Regions from separate parts of the Homo sapiens genome. Here regions 1, 2, 3, 4, 5 and 7 are each linked to region 6. The links are contacts of gene promoters, found by promoter capture Hi-C in blood cells and fetal thymus (Javierre and others, 2016). All regions are on one chromosome and are shown on one strand. The core of a region is centred on a gene start or on the middle of the fragment in contact, and the rest is flanking DNA. Distances in the headings are between cores, read along the strand shown. Region 1 overlaps VWF (von Willebrand factor). Region 2 overlaps VWF (von Willebrand factor). Region 3 overlaps VWF (von Willebrand factor). Region 4 overlaps VWF (von Willebrand factor). Region 5 overlaps LTBR (lymphotoxin beta receptor). Region 6 holds the start of CD9 (CD9 molecule). Region 7 overlaps VWF (von Willebrand factor).

The links. The method cuts DNA at HindIII sites, captures the fragments that hold promoters and counts their contacts. A CHiCAGO score of 5 or more calls a contact.
Region 1: a fragment that was not itself captured here is called in contact with the fragment with the promoter of CD9 in region 6 in 1 of 17 cell types (neutrophils); the score reaches 5.3 in neutrophils.
Region 2: a contact is called between a fragment that was not itself captured here and the fragment with the promoter of CD9 in region 6, in 5 of 17 cell types (neutrophils, M0 macrophages, non-activated CD4 T cells and 2 more). The highest score is 8.5, in neutrophils.
Region 3: a contact is called between a fragment that was not itself captured here and the fragment with the promoter of CD9 in region 6, in 6 of 17 cell types (neutrophils, M0 macrophages, monocytes and 3 more). The highest score is 10.0, in neutrophils.
Region 4: a fragment that was not itself captured here is called in contact with the fragment with the promoter of CD9 in region 6 in 2 of 17 cell types (neutrophils and monocytes); the score reaches 7.6 in neutrophils.
Region 5: a fragment that was not itself captured here is called in contact with the fragment with the promoter of CD9 in region 6 in 1 of 17 cell types (neutrophils); the score reaches 5.1 in neutrophils.
Region 7: a fragment that was not itself captured here is called in contact with the fragment with the promoter of CD9 in region 6 in 1 of 17 cell types (endothelial precursors); the score reaches 5.2 in endothelial precursors.

Annotation. Positions count from the first base shown.
Region 1 is chr12:6,013,796-6,017,362 of GRCh38, reverse strand. It overlaps VWF (von Willebrand factor), which reads left to right. Exons shown (of 52, transcript NM_000552.5): 29 at 493-609; 30 at 707-847; 31 at 1,131-1,274. Among named protein-coding and RNA genes, the nearest start is that of SNORA120, 25 kb to the left of the region's middle. The HindIII fragment of the contact is 4,695 bases long and covers 1-3,567 here.
Region 2 is chr12:6,032,011-6,035,685 of GRCh38, reverse strand. It overlaps VWF (von Willebrand factor), which reads left to right. Exons shown (of 52, transcript NM_000552.5): 20 at 860-998. Among named protein-coding and RNA genes, the nearest start is that of SNORA120, 6.3 kb to the left of the region's middle. The HindIII fragment of the contact is 538 bases long and covers 1,234-1,771 here.
Region 3 is chr12:5,992,771-5,996,382 of GRCh38, reverse strand. VWF (von Willebrand factor) reads left to right here. Exons shown (of 52, transcript NM_000552.5): 35 at 161-381; 36 at 1,776-1,968; 37 at 2,180-2,521. Among named protein-coding and RNA genes, the nearest start is that of SNORA120, 46 kb to the left of the region's middle. The HindIII fragment of the contact is 2,208 bases long and covers 725-2,932 here.
Region 4 is chr12:5,974,605-5,978,119 of GRCh38, reverse strand. VWF (von Willebrand factor) reads left to right here. Exons shown (of 52, transcript NM_000552.5): 43 at 1,860-2,009. Among named protein-coding and RNA genes, the nearest start is that of ANO2, 31 kb to the right of the region's middle. The HindIII fragment of the contact is 9,174 bases long and covers 1-3,515 here.
Region 5 is chr12:6,391,133-6,395,113 of GRCh38, reverse strand. It overlaps LTBR (lymphotoxin beta receptor), which reads right to left. Exons shown (of 10, transcript NM_002342.3): 10 at 3,548-3,981. Among named protein-coding and RNA genes, the nearest start is that of LTBR, 9.0 kb to the right of the region's middle. RefSeq lists an enhancer at 3,641-3,981. The HindIII fragment of the contact is 2,950 bases long and covers 834-3,783 here.
Region 6 is chr12:6,199,012-6,202,843 of GRCh38, reverse strand. It overlaps CD9 (CD9 molecule), which reads right to left and starts at 2,444. Exons shown (of 8, transcript NM_001769.4): 1 at 2,279-2,444. The coding sequence starts at 2,344. RefSeq lists enhancers at 1-508, 509-1,121, 2,348-2,959, 2,960-3,572. The HindIII fragment of the contact is 13,626 bases long and covers 1-3,832 here.
Region 7 is chr12:5,957,969-5,962,041 of GRCh38, reverse strand. The region is part of intron 47 of VWF (von Willebrand factor); the gene reads left to right. Among named protein-coding and RNA genes, the nearest start is that of ANO2, 15 kb to the right of the region's middle. The HindIII fragment of the contact is 532 bases long and covers 1,111-1,642 here.

The sequences.
Region 1 (3,567 bases), core at 493-2,992, 180 kb after region 6:
ATGTGCTCAGACACTAACAGGAGCACTAGGCATTTATAGCTGGAAGAATCACAGTATGTTCACCTGCCCTGCAAGATCTGAGGACACAGCAGCTCATTGTCCAGGGAGGGGCTGCCGCTCCATTTCCTTTTGCAGTCTCCTTGTATTGCCAGGCCAGTATTTTACTCATTTCTAGAAGAATGGTGGCCCCTTCTTACCGAGGAAGCCTATGCCTGCTGCTTTTATTTGTAGACATTTAAACTTCCTTTGGGTAGAATTGGAGTCTTCTCAGTGTCTCTAAATCTGAGGTAGTCCGGACCCAGGAACTCCATCTCCCCATCCCCTCCTCCCTGGCCCACATTGCCCTTGTACTCACGAAGGCACCCCCCGCCCCCCTTGGTGGTGCCACGTGGTCAGCACGCCCTGCAGATCCTATTGGATGTCAGGTTGTAGGCCTGGTGGCCATTGTCCCTGCTGGCACCTGTGTGCTCACCTTCCTGGTTGTCTTTGCAGACTGCAGCCAGCCCCTGGACGTGATCCTTCTCCTGGATGGCTCCTCCAGTTTCCCAGCTTCTTATTTTGATGAAATGAAGAGTTTCGCCAAGGCTTTCATTTCAAAAGCCAATATAGGTGGGTGAGCGAGGCACCTGAAGCAGCAGGTGACGAAGAGGCTCTTTTTGTGGCTCTACTTGATTCAAAATAATCCGCATTTTCTCGTTCCGTTTAGGGCCTCGTCTCACTCAGGTGTCAGTGCTGCAGTATGGAAGCATCACCACCATTGACGTGCCATGGAACGTGGTCCCGGAGAAAGCCCATTTGCTGAGCCTTGTGGACGTCATGCAGCGGGAGGGAGGCCCCAGCCAAATCGGTAACGTTGGTGCCACAGGCTGGATGCAGAAGCTGCATTCTGGTTCTTATTTTTGGCATAAGTGACTGTGTGACCTCGGCCAGTCACTTTGCTCCTTGGCCTTAGTTTCTTCTCCTGGAAAGTGAGGGGCTAGATGCTCTTCCACGTCTCTCCAGATCTCAACTGGGTGTTCCTTGGAGTTTCTGAATCATTCAGCTTTTAAGTGACTTAAGGATCCACCGTTAAGACAGGGTGTCGAGCCGCAGTCAGTACTGACTTGGCGTGATCTGTTCTCCATCCTCAGGGGATGCCTTGGGCTTTGCTGTGCGATACTTGACTTCAGAAATGCATGGTGCCAGGCCGGGAGCCTCAAAGGCGGTGGTCATCCTGGTCACGGACGTCTCTGTGGATTCAGTGGATGCAGCAGCTGATGCCGCCAGGTCCAACAGTAAGAATCTGGTGTACAGTCCTCAATTCAGGAGAGCGAGACTTCAGAAATGATAGAGGATTAAAAGTGGGCTGGGGTTACTTTTGGATGTTGTGGCTGATATTAAATATGCTCAATACCAACCTCTGTCCTGGTTTCAAACAGCAGGAAATTATCCAACCACGATGTGATTAGGAAACCAAACAATAAAAAGTGTGTATTGATCCTATATCTTTATAACTAATTATAATCTTTAATTTCTCCACATTTTCCCTTTGTGTCCAGGAGTGATCATACCTCTATGCCCTTTCTTTCTAAAGTAGGATTCGTGGTCTCTTACTAAAATGTCATGTCTGAGGCCAGAGTGATTCATTGTAGGGCCTTGAGAACCAATGGGGGCTTTCATGTATTTAGAGTCCTTTCCTGGTACCAGGTAATGGGCTTGGCAGGGTTGATGGATGAGAGACAAAGGATCATGCTGTAGGAAAGGGAAGGATCCAGATGTCCAGCCTTGTGCTCCATAAGAACATGTGCTTATCATGTTCTTAATATCAACAGGATGTGAGCTGGGACAGGTGGTAGAGTCTAGGGACCACCTCCCAGCTGAAGAAGGTCTGGGTGAGTGGAGTGACATTGAGTCCCCTCGTGGCCACCTGGAGAACTGTTCATCTTTCAGAACCCTGCCTAGGAGTGCTGTCAGAACCCTGTCTTTTCTCTGCTGTCTTCCTGATGTTCTTCCTGAGGAAGTTATTTGCTCCGTTCTCTATGTCACATATGAGCTACTCAAAATGTGCAAATCGTATTGTATTGTATTGTATTTGTAACATATCTATTCCTTGCAAAAAACTGGGAGTTCTTTGAAGGCAAGGGAAGATCTTGCTTATTTTTGTATCATCTGTGTATGATGCACAAAATAGGTGACCATTTAACGTTTGTTGAGTGAATGAATGTGACATGTTTATGAAATCTATGATTTTAGGGTAAAGGACACTAAAAGGGAAAGGATATATATTTGGATAATATAACGAACTTACAAGAGCTGAAAAGCTGCTAATAGAAAATCCGTTCCAACCTGAAGCACATTGCAAATTCCTAGAACTTTCTGGAGAGCTGAATTGAGGAATTTCAGGATGGAGATTTTTTCTCCTTCAGTATCAAGAATCCAAAGAAAGATTTTCACTGGGAAAGAAAGCAGTTGTGGTCTTGAAGCAGATATGATCCAGAGCAAGTCATTTAACCGTCCAAAGCCTCGGTTTCTCATGTGTAAATGAGCATGCACATTCTCTGGGCTCAGCCCTGTGATATTTTCTCTTCTCTTCTTACATATACCCCCTTGGTGGTCTAGTTCAGTGTCATGGGTCTAAATACATTTATACATCTTTGACTTTGAAATTCGTATCTCCAGCCTCACCTCAACTCAGTTTGCATGCTCTAATAGGCAAAACTAAACTCCTGATTTTCACATCTGTCTTTCTTATCTTAGAAAATGGCAATTCCAACCTTCCAGTTGTTCAGTTCAAAAAGCTCAGCATCCTTGATTCTTCTTCCTTTTCCCTGATACCTCCATGCAAGCCACGAACAAACTATAGCTCCATCTTCAAAATACTTCGAGAGTCACACCTCCCCACACCATGTCCACTAGGGTCACCTCAATCCGAGTCCCCATCATCTCTCACCTGGACTATTGAAATAGCTGTCTAACTGGAACCCCAGCTTCCACCTTTGTCCCCTGCAGATCATTCTCAGCACAGCAGCTGCAGTGGCCCTTTAATATCAAAATCAGCTCCTGTCCCTCTGCTCTGTAGTCTTGGCTGGCTTTGTTTCATTCACAGAACATGGTGAGCCCTTACTGTGGCCAATGGAGCATTGCCTGATCCATGCCCTTTCCCTCTCTTGCTTGTCCCTCTCTCCCCAGCCCCCGGGAGCATGCAGTCACATTTCTGCTCTGGGGCCTTTGCACTCACTCTTCTCTCTGCTTGGGATGTCCCTCCCTCAGACATCCTCTTGGCTCCTTCCATCCTTACATCAGGTTTCTGCTCAGATGCCATCTTTTCACCAAATGCTTCTCCAACTGCCATATATGCAACGATAACCCACACCTCAGCCCTGGGCATTCTCATCCCCCTTATCTCATTTTGTTTTTTTCCTAAGCATTTATCCACATCTGAAATTCTATATATTTACTTTGTTTGTGTGTTTGTTGTCTATCTCTCCATGAGGACGGGGGACAGGGAGGGACTTTATGTGCTTGGTTCACTGCTGTACCCCTATTGCTTACAATAGTACCTGACACAGAGTAGCAGCTCATTAATAT
Region 2 (3,675 bases), core at 253-2,752, 170 kb after region 6:
TCGTTGCAGGCCTTACACTGCCCATGAGCACTTCGTGAGTGTGCTTGCAGTGGCGTGGTTTGAGGTGAGGGTGGCTGGTTGCCTTCTCCCTTTTCCTTGGCCATCCTGCACGTAACCCCTCACCCTGCTCATTCACCCTGCCTTTGACTTGGTGGCTGTGCACAGCCTTGGAAAGAGGCCTACTGGACAGAGGTAGAGAGGGCTGTCTCTTGGGCTTGAGGTCTGAGCTTACCACCTCTGACGCACAAGTGGGCTTCTTGATGTCAGCTCTGGTTACGGGTGGTGGCAGGGAGGGACACGTGGCAGTGGGCAGATCACTATAGATTTTAACATGTAGCTACATACATCTTAACGTGTAGCTATGCACACAGGACTGCTCCTGGCAGAAGTGCGTACTTCATCACTCTTTTCTATACTCTGGGCTTTCCCACTGTTCTGTCTTGTTTTTCCCATTAGCCTCAGGCTTTCAACATCAGTGTGTCTGTTTTACAGACACCCTGTGGCCAATCTCAGGTAGATGTGGCTTTCAGGGTGAGGCTGAGCGAATTCATAACAGGAGGCCTAAAGAGCATCCGGGCCTCCTCCCTGGCTGCCTGGCTCACTTTGGACAACCCCTTCCCTTCTTTGCCTCAGTTTCCCCCTTTTAGGGACAGCCACTAGGCTTCCCTGTCTCCTGCTGGGCACCATACTGGGCCTATGAAGTCCACACTCCACGCTACAGGTCCTCAACTTCCTTGGGCTTCCTGGAGGGTTGGGAGGCACCCAGAGTATTCTGTGTTCCTTCATTGCCTCCATGGCCCAGATGGGCCCCTCAAACCCAAGGTGCCCAACTTGTCATCTCTGCCATGACTGCTCCTAGTGTCTGTCAGGACCGGAAGTGGAACTGCACAGACCATGTGTGTGATGCCACGTGCTCCACGATCGGCATGGCCCACTACCTCACCTTCGACGGGCTCAAATACCTGTTCCCCGGGGAGTGCCAGTACGTTCTGGTGCAGGTGAGAGGTGGGGAGATGGGGAGAGGGTGCTGTTTCTTTCTAGGAGGGGTGGGAGGTGTGGCCTCAGGTTGGGTTCTGTGGATCTGTCTGCAGAAACAACTCTGGGGTCTGGTTTCTACTGGAGTACTTCCCAGTCCTTCACAGAAGTGCCTGAAGCGGTAGGGGATTTGAAGCTCAAAGTGGTTGTCCATTTTCCCTCTGCTCACCTGGGGACTTATAAAACGAGACAGAAGCTTGTTTGTTGTTGAGGATTGGTGTGGGAGAAAGGCTACTGCTAGTCCACATTAGCACAGATGTGGAATTAGAAAAAGTCATCTGTTCCTTCTGGTAGACACAGCCTCAGTCAGGGTGCATAGCTTAGGGAGTGGGTTGGGCTGGGAAGTCAGTCCCGCTCAGCCTCCCTTCCAGCACCCTGGGCAGTGCACAGTCTGCAGGTGTTGTGCAGTGGCCCTGGACAGGGGGATGGTTGAAATGACCCCTGGAGTTTGCTTCCCACGATATGGCTTTGTGGAATTCTCCGCCATTTTAATGTCTAACTTGGTACAATTCAGAATGGGAGGAGTGGGAGGATGGGACACAGGAAAGTCATCCTGCCCAGCAGATGAGAGCGATCCAGGAATCCTCACGGTGAGTGTGGGCAGCAGCCCCTCTGCCTCCCACTCCCCACTGCGTGGATTCTTGTAAGTTTCTCTTTCTGGTTGACATCAACTGTGTAAGCAAGGAAGTATGAGTGCTTTTCTCACCAGAGCTGAGGCACTGTACTCTGTGAAGCTTTGAACAAATATGGTCCCTCTGTCTCCATTCCCAGGAGGAGGAGGGGCGGGAGCTTGGTGTGGTCTGAATGGAAGACCACAAACCCATAGGAGCCCCAGCCCCAGAGGCTGAGTTGCAGGAGCTGGTGAGTCAGGCAGCGTGGGTGACTGTGGACCGACCACTCGTGTAGAGCATGCTGGGCATGGGGCGGAGCCAACAGCAGCCTCCTCAGTCCCCACCTCACACCCGGGCTGGCCCAGAGAGGCAGGCAGTGTGCTGGGGACACAGGGCATGCAGACCAGGCAGGGAACCTATGATCCGGGGGGATATGCGCCCCTTTAGAGCTTTCCCAGAGATTCTATATGGAAGTTTCCCAGCCTCAGCAGCAAAAGAGAGGGCGACACCAGCTTTGCAGAACAACTGCCCAGCCCATTTCAAATCTGAACATCCAGGAAAAAATTAATTCAGTGCAGCAAGGACCAGACAGCTGGTCAGCATCTGCTGCTCCCAGCCCTTCCCTGCCCAGGCCAGCTTTCCCAAGTGGACCAGTTTTAAAGACTCCCCCTCCAAACGGTGCCCCTTGTGTGTGGCTTGTTTTCCTTTCCTACAGCTGGTTCTGTTGTCTTCTGATGCATTGTCCTGGGGCCCCTCCCCTTTCTGCCATCCTCCTTTGGGGAGTATCATCAAGACCTAACTCCCTCTTTCAGAAATCTCAGCTGAAGATAAGGACAAATAAAACACCTACACCCTTGTTTCCTCTTTTAACCTTCGCCATGCATCGACCTAACACAAAGCCATTTAACCTGACAATTCCATTAAGTTGAATGGAATCTTAGAGGTCAGATTGTGTGTGTTGTATGGACATATGTATGCATGTATGTGTGCATGTGTGTATGCATGAGCATGTCTGTGTGGGTGTATGCATGTGCGTGTGTGTGGGTGTATGCATGTGCGTGTGTGTGACTGTGTATGAGTACATGGGTGTATGTGTGTGTATGCGTGAGCGCGTGTGTGTGTATGGCTACGTGTGTGTATGTATGTGTATGCGTGTGTGTGTGTATGAGTACATGGGTGTATGTGTGTGCATCTGTGTATGTGTGAGCACGTGTGTGAGTGTGTGTATGAGTACATAGATGTATGTATATGTGTGTTTGAGTGTATGCATGTGCCTGTGTGTATTTGGGTGTATGTGTGTGTGTGGGTGTGTGTGTCAGAAAGGTAAGTGGTTTGCTCAGTGTTACCAATAAGTGGCAGAATCAAGATTCACACCTTGTTTTTATTTTTTCTTTTTTTTTTTGAGACAGAGTCTCGCTCTGTCACCCAGGCTGGAGTGCAGTGGTGCGATCTCGGCTCACTGCAAGCTCCGCCTCCTCGATTCATGCCATTCTCCTGCCTCGGCCTCCCTAGTAGCTGGGACTACAGGCGCCCGCCACCACGCCCGGCTAATTTTTTGTATTTTAGTAGAGACGGGGTTTCACCGTGTTAACCAGGCTGGTCTCGATCTCCTGACCTCGTGATCCGCCCGCCTCAGCCTCCCAAAGTGCTGGGATTACAGGCGTGGGCCACCATGCCCGGCCTCTTTTTTCTTTTCTTTTCTTTTTTTTTTTTGAGATGGAGTCTCGCTCTGTCACCAGGCTGGAGTGCAGTGGTGCGATCTCGGCTCACTGCAGCCTCCGCCTCCCGGGTTCAAGCGACACACTCTGTTTTTCTAAGTTGAACATTTTATCTTTCTTTTTCATCACATCACAATAATAGCCACCATGGGGGAGGCATTTGCCAGGAATGTGTCCCCTTTTGCTTAATTTTCTATGCAATTGACCAACAAGGACCAGAGCTCCTTATCCTCTCTACTCATCTCGACTTGGTAGCTCAGGACCCATGGAGCTGTGTCAAACCATCTTTGGTTCCATTTCTGGGCCAGCAG
Region 3 (3,612 bases), core at 579-3,078, 210 kb after region 6:
TGTAAAAAAAGGAGGAAATTGTTCTATATGACCTCAAAGGGCCTGTTCCATTCTCTACTGTATTTATCTGTGTGCAACTTGGTCACACCTGCCTGTCTGCATGTAGTAGGCATGGGGGTTTGGATAACGTCGCATCCATCCTCTGCTTCTCTCTGTCCAGGCGTGTGCACAGGCAGCTCCACTCGGCACATCGTGACCTTTGATGGGCAGAATTTCAAGCTGACTGGCAGCTGTTCTTATGTCCTATTTCAAAACAAGGAGCAGGACCTGGAGGTGATTCTCCATAATGGTGCCTGCAGCCCTGGAGCAAGGCAGGGCTGCATGAAATCCATCGAGGTGAAGCACAGTGCCCTCTCCGTCGAGCTGCACAGTGACATGGAGGTGAGAAGTACTTTCTGTGGATCCGTGGTAAGGCAATAGAATGTCAGGAAAACCACCTGGACCTGGTGGCAGTTGCTTTTAGTTGATGCTCTTGTTAGGAGCTCTGCCTTCTGCTTAAGTGGAGGAGAGGAGTACCACTTTCTTAGAGGGGTTTATTGCCATCCCCTTGTCTTGGCGTGATTTCATGTTGTTCCGGGCTCAGATTTGCAAGATGGAATCACTTTTAGATAGCATAAAATTGTGAATTTAGTGCCAGTTTCTGGCACTGGTGGAGAATTGGGATTGGCATCAGGATTGTTCACTCGGAAGGTATTATGAGTCCAATGCCTAAACCCTGTAAGCTTTCCAAAGGGAAACATTTATGGCCTAAATTAGGTCTTTTGAAAATATTTAAGGCCTACATAAAACGTCAGGCTCCAAAATTTGAAAAGAAAACTGCAAAACTGATATATATATATATAAATGATTGATTAAATGCTTACAAAAGGTTACACTATGCCAACTTCTTTACTTGTTCGTGTAGAAATCATAAATATTTCATTGTGTGAAAACAACTTGTAAGCTAGATTTTCTCACTTCGCAAGAATTCCTGAATTTGAACAATAATTGCAGAAAAATCTTAGTCATATATCAAGTGAGTAACTCATAGCCAAAAATTAAAAAATCAAAATGATAAAAAATCCTTCCAAAAATTTTACAGCAAAATTATATTCATTGTGGAATGTGAGTACATTTTAATGTGTTTGATATGATATATGGTGGGGCTGCCCAAGAAAGAGCGTCTAGTGGCACACATACACACAAAGAAGACTTAAAGTGGTCCCATTAAAACACCAGTGTCCAACCTTTTGGCTTCCCTGGGCCACACTGGAAGAGGAATTGTCTTGGGCCACACATACAATGCATTAACACTAACGATAGCTGATGAGCTAAAAAAAAGGTCTGGGCATAATTTTCTGATATCCACCACCACAGAGAAGCAAAAATGTCCTTGCATTCAAAGGGTTGGACACAGCTGCTAGATGCTCTTGGAGACACTGCTCTGATGAGTTGGCAATAAGGCGACTTTCCCAGCCTGTCTTAAAGGCATTGCCCTTCCCTGTTGAGTCACATAGACTCAAGGTTCCTTTTAATCTCCAGGCTTTTAGGTTCTTGGTGCATGGCCACCCGTACAGTATTACAACAGCCTGTTTTCTGGTCAAGCTCTGTAAAGTCAAGCTCTGTTTTCTAGTCAAGCTCTTCTTTATCTTAGAAGAGCTGCCGACAAATATCAAGGTTTGTGGCTGATGTTGCAGTTGAGTGTGATGAATGTGCAGGAACTCTCGGTAACTTCCCTAAAAACCTAGGATTCCTCATTGCTAGGACTACGGATGAGCTCTTTCTTCTTTGTGCAGGTGACGGTGAATGGGAGACTGGTCTCTGTTCCTTACGTGGGTGGGAACATGGAAGTCAACGTTTATGGTGCCATCATGCATGAGGTCAGATTCAATCACCTTGGTCACATCTTCACATTCACTCCACAAAACAATGAGTTCCAACTGCAGCTCAGCCCCAAGACTTTTGCTTCAAAGACGTATGGTCTGTGTGGTAAGAACATTTTCTCAACTCCTCTTCTCCCCCTGCTATACATTTATAAACCTTACTTGCTCTACTCTGAGGCTCTTGGATGCTTATATTTCAGGGTCTAGTAGCGAGGGTCAGATTCTGGTGAGGATCAAGAATGGCCTGTCTCTGGCATCAATGTTTTTGTACCCAGGGCCACTCAGTTTATCTTTTTTTTGTTTGTTTGTTTCTCTAGGGATCTGTGATGAGAACGGAGCCAATGACTTCATGCTGAGGGATGGCACAGTCACCACAGACTGGAAAACACTTGTTCAGGAATGGACTGTGCAGCGGCCAGGGCAGACGTGCCAGCCCATCCTGGAGGAGCAGTGTCTTGTCCCCGACAGCTCCCACTGCCAGGTCCTCCTCTTACCACTGTTTGCTGAATGCCACAAGGTCCTGGCTCCAGCCACATTCTATGCCATCTGCCAGCAGGACAGTTGCCACCAGGAGCAAGTGTGTGAGGTGATCGCCTCTTATGCCCACCTCTGTCGGACCAACGGGGTCTGCGTTGACTGGAGGACACCTGATTTCTGTGGTGAGTCTCCAAGTTACCTCTGAAAATCCTGGAGACCAGCTAACTGGGCTTGCTCAGCCTCTCTGTGCCCCAGATTCTTTATCTGGCTAATAAGGATGAAAATCCCTGTATTTCGTATGACCTGGGATTCCAGTTAGGATCAAATAAGATGGAAGATATATATATACATATACATATATGTATATGTGTGTGTGTGTATATATATATATATACACACACACACACACATATATATGTATATATATACACACATACACTCTGCACGTAGAATTTTTATGTAAATTAATGCATGGTCCTTTCCATTAGTATTTCTATAGTTCAGACAAATGCGATTTTAATGTGTTAGACACATATAGGCATCTGTAAAGGGCTGTGTAACCAGTCACATTGAATTTGAAATTCCACCAAGCTTTAGCACACACTTACAGTGTAGTCCATGCCTGAGCAGGATTTTGAAGTGCAAGTAGAATCATTGGTTGCCAAGAGTCTTCTCAGTTATAAACACTGCAGGATTGCTAGTGCAGACAGCCCCTCCCCAAGGTCAGCTTCCCTACCTGGACTTGGCATTTATTTAAAGTACAGGGGAAACTGAAATGAATCAGATATGGCTCCTGTCCCTCAGGGGTGCTGGAGTGAAAAGAATACTGAACTTGAAACCCTCAGTCATCAAATATAATCCTCGACTATTTTTTTGAGGGAAATCAATATGTACATGCCTGTTAGAGCCTCAGAGTTTATCATCATGGAACTGTCAGCAGCTCTGAGCTGGGTCTGGAGGACTTGGGCATCCTAGTCCCAGCTCAGCTGGTGGATGGACTGTTCTCTTAGTCTTTCTGGACCTCAGTTTCTGCATCCTAGAATGAGATAGTTGGCCTAGATAACCTGTAGGTTCCTTAGGGCTCTGATTTTCTGAGGCCATGTGGATGATACTGCCTCCTCCCAATCAGCCTGCAAATCAAGGGGCAAATGTTAGTTTCTAAGTTACTGGAAGCACTTTCTCTGCATACTGATTTCTTTGTGTACCTCCTGGTTATTTACTGTGCACACAGAGGGAAATCTTTGGTGCTCCAAATCCTTGGAAACTTCGTCCA
Region 4 (3,515 bases), core at 19-2,518, 220 kb after region 6:
AATTATGTGCCACTGACGATATCTAGTTAATATTTCAATTTGTTTTCCATTTTTAGGGATTGCTTTTTATTTCTTTTAAATTTTAAAATTACTATGGTGTAAAACACTTAAATGATTTTAAACCCCAAATTATAAAACAAGACATATTCCCAGGAGTCTTACTCTGTGTTTTCTCTACCTTATTCCTTCCTCCACCCTATAATTTATATATGTGAATATATATAATATATAATATATATATATAGAGAGAGAGATAGGGTCTTGCTCTGTCACCCAGGCACAAGTGCAGTTATGCGACCTCAACTAACTTCAGCCTCCACCCCCTAGGCTCAGACGATCCTCCCCCTCAGCCTCCTGAGTAGCTGGAACTACAGACATATGCCACCACATCCGGCTAATTTTTGTATGTTTTTGTAGAGACAAGGTTTCATCATGTTACCCATGCCGGTCTGGAGCTTCTGAACTCAACCAATCTGCCCGCCTCAGCCTCCCAAAGTGCTGAGATTACAGACATCAGCCACCGTGCCCAGCCTTTATAATTTTTATTAGTTTTTCTCTTTTTGAAAATATAACTGAATTTTATACATGTATATTTCTTCCCATTTCTCATAGAAAGGAAGCATATTATGAATTATATTTTAAATTGTTCTTTCTCATTTAACAATATTTGATGGAGATTATTCTGTATCAGTGTGTAGAGATCTGCCTTATTCTTTCTTATAGCTGCATAGTACTCCATTGCATGGCAGCACCATAGTTTTGTTTCAACAAGTCCCTTATTGGTGGACATTTGAGTTGCTTCAGCCTTTTGCTATTACAAATTGCAGTAACAAACAGCCGTGTGCATCTGTCATTTTGTGGTCTTGCCAGTGTGTCTTTGGGATAGATTCCTGGAAGTGAGATTCTGGGTCAAATTATAAATACACATTTACTTTTGCTAAGTATTGCTAAACAATTCTTCTCCATAGGGATGGTAACATTTTCCTGCAGGCCTTTTAATAGAACAAGGGGTCTCATTCAATAAGTTCATTATACAGAAGCTAGAAGACTGAGAAGATAAATGATAATGGTTTCAAAATGTTTGAACTGCTATTATGACATTCACAGGGTGGAGACCCGTTTTGCATAACTTTGGAGGGCATACTTGGGATTAATTTCAAAACTGTCATTAAGTCCCGTGATCAAACAGCTTCCTTAGCTCCTCATTCCAACAAAAGGATGTCCGAGCATTGTCTGTGGCGTGCATCCCAGACTTTCCACGTTTCCCTTTCAACCAGCCTTTTTCATCTGTTTTCCCACATCTCTACCAGAGCCTATTGTTCTTCCCAATAGGATCCCTTGTCTCTCAAACATATCCCCTGCTCTGTGTCCCAGAGTCTTTACTTGTTATGTTCCTAGTCACTCGTGGGCAAGGGGACATGCATTCATAGCCCCTGCCCAATTTGCTCGTAAGTGGGCAGAGGGCTCGATGAGGATGGGCTCCAAGTCCAAGGACATTACTGGGTCTGGGCATGTGGGTACAGCTTCTCGGTGACATAGGAAGGAGTGAAGTGCAGTTAAGGCAGGAAGAAGGGAGACCAAGGCAGCCAGTGTGTTGTATTCAAGTCTGTGGGACCATGAAGGCCTCACGAGGGGCCACCCCTGAGAGACTGGTCATAGCTTTTCTAAGGCTGGTGGGCAGGGAAAGGAGGAGGACGAAATCTGCTTTATAAGCAGCCCTGCATATGGGCGGAGACCACATTTGGTTTTATTTATTGCCACATTCTCAGCACTTAGAGCGGCTTCTGTGTAGTAGGTGCTAACTCACCGCTTGTTTCAATGAAACAAATGAGTTCACTCACGAAAACTTATGTCTACAGGTGTGTGTCCACCGAAGCACCATCTACCCTGTGGGCCAGTTCTGGGAGGAGGGCTGCGATGTGTGCACCTGCACCGACATGGAGGATGCCGTGATGGGCCTCCGCGTGGCCCAGTGCTCCCAGAAGCCCTGTGAGGACAGCTGTCGGTCGGTGAGTGGGGCAGGGGCTGGGCATGCCTGCAGCTATCAGAGCGGGAAAGTAGAGGAGGGCATCTTAGGAAGGGTAAGAAAGGTTCTTTTTTTTTTGAAATGGAGACTCGCTCTGTCGCCCAGGCTGGAGTGCAGTGGCACAATCTCGGCTCACTGCAAGCTCTGCCTCCCGGGTTCACGAGGAAGGGCAAGAAAGGTTCTTTAGTGACCTCTGGTTCAAGGCTAGGGGTGAGGAAGAGGGAGGGGGTTAGGGCTGGGTAAGAAGAAAAAGCATGAGCAAAGGATTTCTGCGTCATCCTTCTGCAGTTCAGTCCTTGGCTAATGGTCACGTCTGTTGTATGGCCTTAAGTCTAAAGTACTGGTGGAGTAGGTTTGAGCAGAGACATGGGGAGGACTAAATGCCTAGAAAAGAGAACTTGAAGTTTTCCTTTTTCTTCCACCCTCATGTATCACCTTCGCCTGTCCCTAGAACAAATGTATGCTCTGAATTTTCTAGGATCGTCCTTGTTTCAGTTTACTCTGGTGTTTCCACATAGACTGTTGATTTTCAGACCATGTTTATAACTTGAGGTACGGAAAACATGATCCCTGTTTCCCAAATCCAGTTCGTGGTGGCTGCCCCTGAGGCTCCTGTGTGTGCTGGGGTGCCCTATTCTTGCATGTTTAGGATGGATCAGACTGGAGAAAAAGGGAGCAACAATCTGCAGGGAGGACTGTGGGTAAAATTCTGCTTGCTGGTTTAATGCGATTATTATTACTACATTATTATCAGCAGATAATGATGTTAAGAGAAGAGGTGCCAGGGCAGGCGAGCACATCCATCTTGTGGTTGCTTTTGCAAATGTCAATGGCAGTGAAGGCAGAGTTCCTGAAGGTGTTTTCGAGGTGAATGGTTTGACGGAGGAGGGCCTGAGGGCAAATCCCGAAACCCAGGCCCTTCACCTGCTATTCTACTTGCATTTGGGTACTGAGAGTGAGCGGAGGTGCTCAGTACCTTTGGGAGAGGATGACGCTGTGGTATCCAGGTGTTCCTGTGGGAAACACTAAGTTTTGGAAACCCTTTGGTTTTCTTCTCCTCTCACAGGCCATCTGAGGCCAGGGAAATAACTTGCTGTCAAATAAAGAGAGTGCTGCTTAGAGGTCATTTTTAGAAAATTGACAACCAATATATTTCGTGTTTCAGTGGGGAGTTTTGCTTGCAAAGAATAGAACCCATTCAGGCTAGCTACAATAAAAGGGGATTTGTAGAAAAGATACAGGAGGATCTTTCAGACAGGAAGTGCAGGATTTGTAGGTGGGCACCGTGGTCCTACAGCATGTCTCTCCATTTGTCCTAAGAGCCGGTATTTCTGTCCGTCTGCTCCAGCTCCTCACTGCAGGCCAGCTTCCTCTGTGCAGAAGTTTTGCTTTCTCACACATTTTGTTTACACACAGCTTTGTTAAATCTCACTTCAACTCCACACAGCTTTTCAGATCCGTGGTTCATCCCTGTCCAGTCTGACTTAGT
Region 5 (3,981 bases), core at 1,059-3,558, 190 kb before region 6:
ATACAATTAAAACTAAAAAAGAAAAGGAACACCAAACACTATGATTTACACAAATGGGAACTTTTTTTTTCTCTCATAAAAAGAAGCCCAGGAGTAGGTGCTGTGCTTACTTACTGTTGATTTGGGTCTCAGTGATGCCTTGGGAGCCAGGTTCTGTCCTTTCTTCCAGGTCCTCAGAGGACTGGCTTTTTATCCCCGTGGCGGTTTCCTCATGATGGTAAGATGGCTGCCACAGCTCAGGAGTGATGTTGTCACACGCAAAATCCCCAAAACAAAAAATAAGGGCCAAGGCAAACCAAAAACTTTCTCCTAATGGTGCTTTATACCCTGGAAAGGAAGACTTCCCTGTGCATGTCATTGTACAATTGCAAAGAAGAATGAGTTTATTGGCTCCTGGGATTGGGGGAAGGGCCTCTTCTCCTGATGTCACGGAATCTCTGCTCTAGTACAAAAATGCGGTTCTGTCCTTAGGAAATGTGCAGAAGTCTGTTGGACAGGCAGCAGAAAGAGTCCACCACAGCTGTCTATGTGAACCGCTTTATCTTTTGAAAAGGGAAGTTCTTACTGACCCTTGTTGGGCTGACCCTGCCGGTACTCACAGTGCTTCCTGCGGGAAAAGACTAGAGTGAGTCTCCTGTGAAGTCTCAGACTGGTGGGGAAGCCGAACGCCCACCTCCCATCCACTGTGTCCACTGGAGAAACCGAGCATCCAGGGACTCCTCTGCGTGTGGCACTGTGCGGGCTTGGGGAGGAGTGGCGTGGTCAGAAAGCAGCCATCCCCTTACCGTCCTCATGGTTTTTCTTGGCTCTGCCATCCCAGGGGATGCAAAGCTTCACTCCAAGTTCTGGGATATTCAGGGTGGTAAACTTGCCACAGGATTGTTGCTAGTTGAAATTCTGTTGGGGAGGAGAGAAGCCGGAGAACTCCTACTTTGACATTGTGTTGATGCCACTCTCAAAAAGGGAAATTCTGAATTACCCCATCCTCCCCCATCTCCCTGTGCTACTGCTCTGTCCCCAGTTCCATCCACCTTTCTTCTGGACTACAGCCTTGGCCCCCTAACGGGTGTCCCACCCCCGTGTTGATGTGGGTTGGACTTGGTGTTAGCTTTCTCCTCCCTGTGGTAGAGGATTAGGGTTCTCACAACCAACAGTTACCCCATTGTCAACTGCCATTGCATCCTGTTGCATCTTTTGAAGACCACCATCAAGAGGCTGTCTTTGTTGGTTTTCTGCCAGCTTTTCCTTGTAGACAGGAGCTCCCCTCTACGTGGCCTGTGCTCTGTGGATGTGTCCTGGAGCCTGTACTGACTCCACACTGGCAAAATAGACATGGGTAATGCTGTGGGTGGAACTGTGTCTCCCTCCAAAATCCACGTGCTGAAGCCCTAACTCCCAGGACCTCAGAATGGGGCCTTATTTGGAGACAGGGGCTTTAAAGAGGTGACTAAGTTAAAATGAGGTCATCAGGATGGGCCCTAATCCACTAAGAGAAGATTAGGACACACTCATGCACAAAGGCAAGACCATGTGAAGACATAGGTGGCAGGAAGGCCACCATTAGCAGGCCAAGGACAGAGGCCTCAGAGGACACCAACCTTGCCAACACGTTGACCTCTGACTTCCAGCCTCCAGAGCTGTGAGAAGATAAATCTCTGCAGCTTAAGCTATCGAGTCTGCAGTACTTTGTTATGGCGGCCCTAGAAAATTAATTTAGGCAGCCCAGGTGCAGTGGCTCATGCCTGCAATCTCAGCTCTTTGGGAGGCTGAGGTGGGAGGATCACTTGATCCCAGGAGTTTGAGACCAGCCTGGACAACATAGCAAGACCCCACTTCTTAAAAAAGAAATTAAAAAAAAATTAGCCAGGTGTGGTGGCACGCATCTGTAGCTCTAGCTACGTGGGAGGCTGAGGTAGGAAGATCATTTGAGTCTAGGAGCTGAGGCTATATGAGCCACGATTATACCACTGCACTCAAGCCAGGGCGACACAGTAAGACCCTGTCTCTAAAAAAATACAGGCAGGTATAATTATAAATTTGAATGGTGTCACAAAGGGCTGTGCTTCAGCATCATTTCTTTCAAAATATTTTCCTCCTTTTATTTTGTTGAAAAAAATGTATAAAATTTGTTTTTTATCTAAACACATTAGAACAATTATTAAGAATTCATGAGGTCTGGCCCCAGCATATTGCAGGGGCAGGAGGATTTAACTTTATTTAAAGATACAGCTCACCATTATTTACTTTTCAAAAAAGGAAGTTGGATGTGATATTTTCACAGTCAACCTTAAATGACCCATCCACTCCATTGGATCAGACGCCTTCTGAGGTGTGTGTTTTGCAGCCGCCCCACCCTGATGAGCTCCAGCGACAGAGTTCCTCATATCAGACCCATGAGAGTGGCCTTTTATGGAAGGAGCAGCCGGCTGGCAGCAGCTCCCTAACAATCCTGCAAGCTAAGATCCTCTCGACCGAGCACAGGAGAGAATTCAGGGGCAGGGAGGGGCAAACATTTACTAATAAGAGGGCTTGAGAAGATTTAAAGTCCTTTTTGGGGGTAAAAATAAAAGAAGACAAAAAGAAACCAAAAAAGTAAAAATCATAAATACTCTTTCTGAACCAAAAGGAGGCCAGCCTAGATTTCTGTTCACCAACAAAATGTGAACTTGGCCTCTCTCATTTTATGTCTAAAGTGCACACCTCAGGTCAGGCACGGTGGCTCTCACGCCTGTAATCACTGCATGTTCAGAGGCCAAGGCAGGAGGATTGCTTGAGCCCAGGAGTTCGAGACCAGCCTGGGCAACACAGGGAGACCTGATCTCTACTAAAAATACAAAAAATTAGCTGGGCGTCGTGGCACACACCTATAGCCCCAGCTACTTGGGAGGCTGAGGTGGGCGGATCCCTTGAGCCAGGAGTTCAAGGTTGCCATGAGCCATAATAGTGCCACTGCACAACAGCCTGAGTGACAGAATTAGATCCTGTCTCAAAAAAAAAAAAAAAAATTGCACACATTTCCCTTCAATCAACCTTGGAGAACATTTTTCACTTCGCGTGTGGCTAGATGTTTGAGAGTTGACTGAAAAGTAACACCTGCGGAACATGCAAGAGATCTGATTATTTGAGAAGGCCAGACCATTCTACCCGTTCAAAGAAATTCTGGAAGGGCGTGGTATATGAAGGCTTTTTTTTCCCCAAGAGGCCTCTAAAAGCCAGACGAACTAGGTGCAAATCCCAGCTTTGTCATTTGCAGCTGAATTGGGAAAGTTACCGCTCTGTGCCTCAGTTTCCTCATTTGTTAAATGGGAATCATATCTACCTTAGGGAGTTATTGTGAAGATTAAGTAAGTTAGTACTGTAAAGCATTGAGAACACTGCCTGGCACGTTGTCAGCCATCACTGACGAGACTGTTATTACCTGGACTATACTCACCAGCTCCTCACTGAAATATCTTTATGGGATTATATTTTAGTGTCTTGACCTTTGTCTTTGAGATTGTCTCCATGGAATAGTGTTTCTGTATAAATCCCAAGAAAATAAATTATCTAGGTCCCATTCTTTTTATTTGCATGTGGTTACAATATAAATACACTTGCCATTTTCCTCCCCTTCCAAAACTCTTCCCCATACCTAGGAATCCTACCCAACCCCCTAGTTGTTAATGACTCCCTTTCCTCTCCTCTAGGAGGGGAGGGAAGGAGCGTCCTCCCTATAATTTCATCTTCATGCAGGGTCTACCTCAGTCCACGTGAAGTGTGGAACCCCAAAGGGTCTCTGAAGCTTGGGGATGAGCACCACGAATCCTTTAGAGGGGCCCGTGACGTCCTTGCAGGTGACCGTGTGGCGGCTCCCTCGGTGCCGTGCTCCGGTGCGGCGTGCCGTAGTGGGCAGCAGTTGGTATCATGTGCCCTGTCCGTGCCTGAGGCTGAGCAGCCCCAGGGGGTGGGTGGGTCTGCCGGGAGGCCTCAGGTTTGCTCAGG
Region 6 (3,832 bases), core at 1,195-3,694:
CATCTCTCTTCCTCTGCTGCCTCACTATGAATAAGAGAGCTGGACTGCATGATCTTCAAAAGTCATTCCAAACATTTCCAGTGTGAGTGATTTCTGTTTCAGACTACATAGGTCATCAGCTGCACCTAGGCTGGGGCCAGGCATAGGGGGTTCTGAATACGAGTGGGGTGGCAGGCTGAGGACAGTACGGACAGATTGCAGGCCAGCAGGCCACAGACAGAGTAGATACCAGTGGCCCTGTGAGCCTCGCATCAGCTTCCTGCATATGCCATGGGGCAGATGGGGGTAGGGAGGCACACTGTGGCAGTCTGTGTTTCCCTGCAGTCCCAAACCTGGATGCAGTCTAGGCAGACAGCTGAGGACTAACCAACACACCAGCCGGGAGAGACTGTACCTGGGAGGGGAGAGGAAAACTCCCAAAGTTCAAGGGTGGGTGAGGCCAGCTGCCTTCCCGCATACTTTTCTGCTGCCAGGGATTGGTGAAAGAAAGAAGCTAAGCGTGGCAGCTGGGTGGTTGCTGGGGTGGGTGGCAACACAGGAGGAGGGGTGCCCACGGCCAGCAGGGTCTTTTTAAAGCAAGTCAAGGGTTGGGAAGGAGCACACCTATATGCCGTCCTCACTGGGGTGTGTGTTATGGTGACTGATGCACTGGGGGAAGTCAGTCTCTGCAAATTGGAAAAACTGTTCAACCACCCCTTCAGCTCTGGGGAGGAGTGAATCTTAGAAGATTTCCCTAAGGAGGCTTGTGGGGACCTCAGTGACCAGCTCCAGGGGGAATAAGTGCATTTGTTTCTTTTCTACTTTTTTTGAGACAGGGCTCACTAGGTCACCCAGGCTAAGTGCAGTGGTGCAATCATGACTCACCGCAGCCTTGACCTCCCAGGCTCATGCCATCCTCTCATCTCAGCCTCCTGAGTAGCTGCGATCACAGGTGCATGCCAACACGCCCAGCTAATTTTTTATTTTTTTGTGGAGATGGGGGTCTCACTATGTTACCCAGGCTGGTCTTGAACCTGGATGAAAGCGATCCTCCTGCCTCAGCCTCCCAAAGTGCTGGGATTACAGGCATGAGCCACTGTGCCTGGCCAAGTGCACTTTTTTGTTACAAGACTCTGGTGGCATGCACCTGTTTCTACATCCATCTATCTTGAGAGTGGCATAGAGACTCTCTTCCTGCCTGCAGAGCGGCAAGTATTGTCATGTGTGTGCAGGGAATGTGGCTATAGAAACAAGGACACAAGGGTTTCCTATTCCTTGCTTCTGTCGCCTCTCAGCCTTCCCATTTGTAGAGGCTGAGTGGCCTGCAGCAGGTGTCTCTGGAGCTCCTGGCCCCGCTGGCCTCTCCAGATGAACGTCCGCTCTGCGCCCTGCCTGGCCTTGGGTGGGCCGCCTGGGCTGGCGGGGAGGGGAGAGGGCAAGGCCAAGGCTCTCCTGGGCGGGCAGCTGGCTGGCACCTGATCTCTCCCGGAAATGCACACACAGGACTCATCCCACTAGAGGCGCAGATAGGTATCTGCCCCCTCCTCTCCCGAACTCTGAGTTCTCTCCAGTGAAGATACTTATCGTCCTTGAAAGAAATCAAGACAAGCTAGTCTTTCAGGGAGCTACCAGGGAGTTCGGCGCTCTCACGGTGGCTCAGAATCAAAGTCTGAGGGAACGGGGGCCTGCGAGGTTCCTCCTCAAGGGTGGAGGGGCCCCCGACTCTCAGGGACTGGGTCCCGGGGCCGGACCCGCGGCCGAGGCACCCCTGCCGCTCCTGCGTAAAAGTGAGAGCCGCTCTTGGCTGAGCTCTCGCCGTGCCCGCACCCTCCCTTCCTGGCGCCCCCTACTACCTGGGAGACCCCACCCGGTCACAAGCCATACTGCTCACCACAGTCCTCCTTGGCCTTGGCCCAAAGAGGGGTGCTCCGCTTCTCCCTGCCTTCCTCTCTGGCACTCGGAGGGACTTGAGCTGGGAGCAGACACACACCCCAGCTCAAATCCTAGGCGAGCTAAAGTGCTCAGGACCCTCCCGCACGCCTCATCTCAAGAGGGCCCGGCTCCCCACGCCGGCTGGGCGGTGATGAGCCCCCACCCGAATGCGCCCGTCGCGGCCGTCCCGCCCGGCTCTGGACCCGGCCTTGGAGCCAGCTGGCAGCCGCAGGGCGCTCTCTCTTCCCGCCCGGTGCCTGCCCGGTGCGGGCAGTGCCAGCTGCCGGCACTCGCGGCCGCGGCCAGTGTCCGGGGCCCGCGAACAGGTGGGCCCTGAGAGGAGCGCGCGGCAGTCGCGCTCACTCACCCAGAAGATGAAGTTAAATCCGAACAGCAGGTATTTGATGCACTTGGTGCCTCCTTTGACCGGCATGGTGAGGGCTAACTTAGCCTGGGCCGAACGGGTGCGGGACTGGGGGGCGCGCGCAGCTGGGACTGGCGGGACCTGGCGCTGGATACAGATGCAGGCGGCTGTAGGCTGGTCTCCGGCTGCACTTTTAAAAAGTGCCACTCCTTAGGGCGCGCGACCCGCTGCGGTGCGCATGTGCCGGGAAAAGCCGCCCCCACTCCCCCCGCCGGCCACGCCTCCCGCCCCACCGGCCCCGCCCGGGCCGCACCCCCCCCGCCCCCCGCCCCCGCCCAGGTCGGCGAGCCCCGGCCCCAGCTGCCCCGCGGAGCCCGACCCTCTCCCTGTTTCCCCGCCTAGTCGCCCTAACCCCCACCCGCCACCCACTCCTTCTTCAAGCCGTCTTGGGGTCTTTGCAGGCAGCCACTCCCTGCCACTTTTACCGCGGACTTACGTGGAGGCCTCGCCCTTCCGGTTCCCCCGCGTTTGGTCTGGGCGCCGGACCGGGCGTTCTGCTTTGGGAGACTCTTCCCCGGGTCGTCAGGGCTAAAGGCCCCTTGGCCAAGGCCTGCTGCCAGAGTGAGGGGCCCTTCTGCTTTGCGAGGATTTAAAGGGAAGCCGCCTGGCTTAATTTCGCCCTCGTCTGTCTCCTTGCAAACCTTCGCTCGCTGACCATACTTTTCATTGGGCACAGCATGTGGGGTAGGAGGAATTAGAAGCGCGCAGTCTGGGTGGGATGACAGATGGGAGGCTTTTGGAAGTAATTAGCAAATACCTATCACCGAATAATAACACAGCTGAGGGCTGGGCAGTCCCCAAGCGCTTCCTGCACTTGAGGTTTAGTTGCCCCAGAGGGAAAAAGGGTCTGTAGACGGCTTCTGTTTTCTCTCTACTCCTCCACCCCACCCTCCCTCCTGCGTCTTTGGACTTGCTCGCTGCTGCCTTGAACTGCTCCAGATGCCGAGCTCGGAGCGCTTCTCCTGAGCTCACAAACTTTCTGTAGCTCTCCAGATTCAAGGACCTAAGTCGAAATTCCTCGTCTTGCCCTCAAGGCCCTGTACAGAGCACTGATCTGACTTCTCCCGGACCCAGAGCCCACCCCACTCGCTGGCCGGCATGCGCCCTGGCTGGCTGGCCCCCCCCCAACGTCACTTGTAGGAATTCTGTGGGTCTTTAAACACTCCTTTCCTGATTCTCTGGAGTGGACGAGGAGAGTCACCTTCTTTTGAAGTCCCCGAATCCCTTTGTATTATTTTCAAAATGAAGTTTCCTTTACTGTCCTTTATGATTACAAAAGCAAGATACAGTCATTACAGAAACAACCGAAATACCAAGAAGTGAAAGGAACAGACCTCAAAATTCTGCTCACCAGAAACAGCCACTGTTAGCACATTGCTGTTATTTGCCTGTTTATTATCAGTAGACTTGTCTCATTGGTTCAAAAACATTTTTCAGTATCTATTAGGGTATTTCATTAGGGGTAGGAGCTGAAAAACATGGATTAGTCCTTGTTTC
Region 7 (4,073 bases), core at 127-2,626, 240 kb after region 6:
TTTCTCATGGCATCCACATGTGGCAGAAGGTGGAAAGGCAAAAGGCACTAGGGCATTCCCTTTGACTTTTTTTTTTTTTAAATAACAGCACAAATTCACTCAGGAGAGTGGAGCCCTCATGACTTAAATCACTTAGGCCCCATCTCTTAATATCATCAGTTGGGAGTTTAAATCCCAACATAGGAATTTTGTAGGGACACACACATTCACATCTTAGCAGTCTCCTTTAATTTTTCTCTGCAATGATTTTTTTTGTGTAGATGCACAAATTTTGTTACACTTATTACCTAGTATTTAAAGTTTTTGGACGATATTGCAAATGGAAGTTTTTTTTAAATTTTATGTTTTGTTTGTTGCTTTTATAAAATCAGTTTTTATATTTTGATCTTGTATTCTTCAGCCTTGCTAAATTCACTTATTAGTTGTAGTAATAGTGTTTTTTTTTTTTTTTTGAGGGGGCAGATTCCTAAGGATTTTCTTCATAAGCAGTTATGACACCTTCAAATAAAGACAGCTTTTACTTCTTCCTTTGAAATCTTTATACATTCTGTTTTGTTTTTCTTGTTATCAAACTGGCTAATATAATCAGTACAATATTGAATAGAACTGATGGGAATATTTTCTTTCTGATCTTAGAGGGAATTAATTCATTAAGTATGATATAGTTGTGTGTTCAACAGCAGCAGTGCCCAACCTTTTTGGCACCAGGGACCAGTTTCGTGGAAGACAGTTTTTCCATCGACTAGGGTCAGGGGGATTGTTTTGGGATGAGTCAGATGCATTATGTTTATTATGCACCTTATTTCTATTATTATTGTATTGTAATATATAATGAAATAATTATATAACTCCCATAAGGTAGAATCAGTGGGAGCCCTGAGCTTGTTTTCCTGCAGCTAGATAGTCCCATCTAGGGGCGATGGGAGACAGTGACAGATCATCAGGCATTAGATTCCCATAAGGAGCACGCAACCTGGATCCCTCACATGTGCAGTTCACGGTAGGGTTTGGGCTCCTGTGAGAATCTAATGCTGGCTGCTGATCTGACAGGAGGCAGAGCTCAGTTGGTAATGTGAGTGATGGGGAGTGGCTGTAGATACAGATGAAGCTTCACTCATTGGCCCACTGCTCACCTCCTGCTGTGCAGCCCAGTTCCTAACAGGCCACTGACCGGACTGGTACTGGGGCCCCCTGTCCTATAGCATATTGAAGAAGTTCTCATCTATTTTTTTAGTGCTGAGAGTTTCTACAATGAATTGGTTTAAATTTTGTCAGACAGTTTTGCTGTATATTTTAAGATGACCATATGGTTCCCCCTTAATTCTGTTAACATGAGGAATTGCATGGATTGATTTCAAATGGTGAGCCAACCTTTCATTCGTTTGATGAATCCCCTTTCTTCATGACGTGTTATCCTGTTTCACATCCAGTGCTAGATCTATTTGCTCATATTTTGTTAAAGATTTTAATGTTTATGTTAAGAGTGTTAGGTTTCTAATTTTCTTCTCTTTAATGCTTTTGTTAGATTTTGATGTCAGGGTTATGCTAGATCCAACAAAATATGGTGGTGTTTTCTAAAGAGCTTATATAAAATTGGTATTATTTCTTCCTAAAATGTTTGGCAGATTTCATCAGTGAAGCTTACTAGACTTGAAGCTTTTCATGTGGAAAAGATTTATATATAAAATTCAACTTTTAAAATAAAAAAACGGATTTTCTATTTCTTCTTGAATTAGTTTGGTAAATCAGTTTTTCATGGAACTTATCCGTGTATTTAAGTTGGTCAAATTTAGTTACACAAAGTTGTTTATAACATTTCCTTATTATACTTTTAATATCTGTGGAATCTGTAGTTGTAAACCTTCTATTATTTCTAATATTGATAATTTGTTTCTTTTTATTTTCTTGATTAATCTAGCTAGAGATTTTCTTATTTTGACTAATTTGTCTATTATATATTAATTATTATTATATTATATATTATTATATTATTAATCTTTCAAAGATCCAACTTTTGCCTTTGTTGTTTTACTTTTTATATTTTTCTTTTCTATTTTATTGATTTCTGCCCTTATTTTTATTATGTCTTGTCATTTAATGACTGGGTCTAATTTGCTCTTCTTTTACTAGCATCTTAATATGGAAGCTTAGCTCATGATTTTCTAATACAAAATTTAAAATATAAATTTTCCTTCAAGAACTGTTTTTGCTGTACTCCTCAGATTTTGATATATTGTTTTTTATTACCGCTAGTTAAAAATATTTATTTTTTGATCCATGGGTTATTTAAAAGTATTTTATTTAATTTCCAAATATGGTGGTGTGTTTTTCAATACTTTATTGTTGCTAATTTCAATATAATTTCATTATATTGAAATTGGTCATAGAATATAATCTCTAAGATTTCAAAATCTTGACATTTATTTACTTTTTTATCCAGTCTCTGTTTATCCATGTTTACATTTTTATGGCCCACAATTTGGTCTGTCTTTGTGAATATTCTGTGTGCATTTGAGAAGAATGTATGCTCTGCAGTTCTGGAATGTAATAGTTTATTATTTCCAACTAGGTCATATTGGTTCTTACAGTTTTCCAAATCCTCTATATCTTCATTTGTCTTTTTCCTACTTGTTTTTATCAATTACTGAGAGAACATAAAAATCACTGACTAAGATTGTGGATTAGCCTATTTCTCCCTTTAGTTCTATCCATTTTTGCTTCATATATTATGAAGTTCTGTAGATGCATCCCTCTTAAGCATTCTTATGTCTTGATGAATCTATTCTTTTGTCATTATCAAATAACCTCCTTTATTTTTTATTTATTTATTTTTTGAGATAGGATCTCACTGTGTCGCCCAGGCCTGGAGTGAAGTGGCACAATCATGGCTCACTACAGCCTTGGCCTCCTAGGCTCAGGTGATTCTCCCACCTCAGCCTCCCACCTAGCTGAGACTAGAGGTGTGTGCCACCATGTCCAACTAATTTTTGTGGAGATGGAGTTTTGCTATGTTGCCCAGGCTGGTCATGAATTCCTGGGCTCAAGCGATCCTCCCACCTCAGCCTCCCAAAATGCTGGGATTACAGGTGTGAGCCACCGCACCCAGCCACCTCCTTTATTTTTGGTAACATTCCTCATCTTAGGCTGTCTCTAGTCCTATCTAAGCTTGGCAACAATGGACCAAGATAACAAACTAAGAATTACAGTCAGTTATTCACTCATTCAACATATATGGTATCTACTATCATTTATCCAAGCAGAGGGATCAAATTAGTGAAAGAAAACAGGTAAAAATCCTTTCCCTGCTTCCCCTAAGTGAAGAGTAATCTTTTATGTTTATTTATTTATTTTTTGAGACAGGGTCTCACTCTGTCTTCCAGGCTGGAGTGCAGCGGTATGATCATGGCTCATTGCAGCCTTGACTTCCTGGGCTCAGGTGATCCTCCCATCTCAGCCTTCCAGGTAGCTGAGACTACAGTTGTGCACCACCATGCCTAACTGATTTTTTGTATTTTTTGTAGAGATGGGGTTTTGCCATGTTTCACAGGCTGGTCACAAACTCTTGGGCTCAAGCGATCTTCCTATCTGGGCTTCCCAAAGTGCTGATATTACGGGCATGAAGCCACCTCACTGGCCTTGTTTGGTATTAATACACCTATATCAACTTTCTTATTTTGACTAATTTGTCTATTACATCTTTCTTCTCAACCTATCTATCTAAATTAAAAGTGCGTCTCTTGAAAACAACATACTAATTGAATTTTGCTTTTTAAAATCTAAAGGTGACAATCTCCATTTAATGTAATTATTGATATGGTTGGGGTTAAAGCTATTCTTCTGTTATTCATTTTATCTGCTGTCTTCTTTGTTACTTGTTCTGTTGTTAATTCTTTTTTGTCTTTTGGTTCAACTGAGTTTTTCTTTTTTTTCTTTTTTTTAGTACTATATCTCTTTATTGGCCTTTTCACTGTATTTCTTCATATTACTATTTTAGTGGTTGCTCTAGACTTATCACAGTACACTTTGATTGAATAATATAACATTTCATGTACAACGTACTTTTTCCATAATTT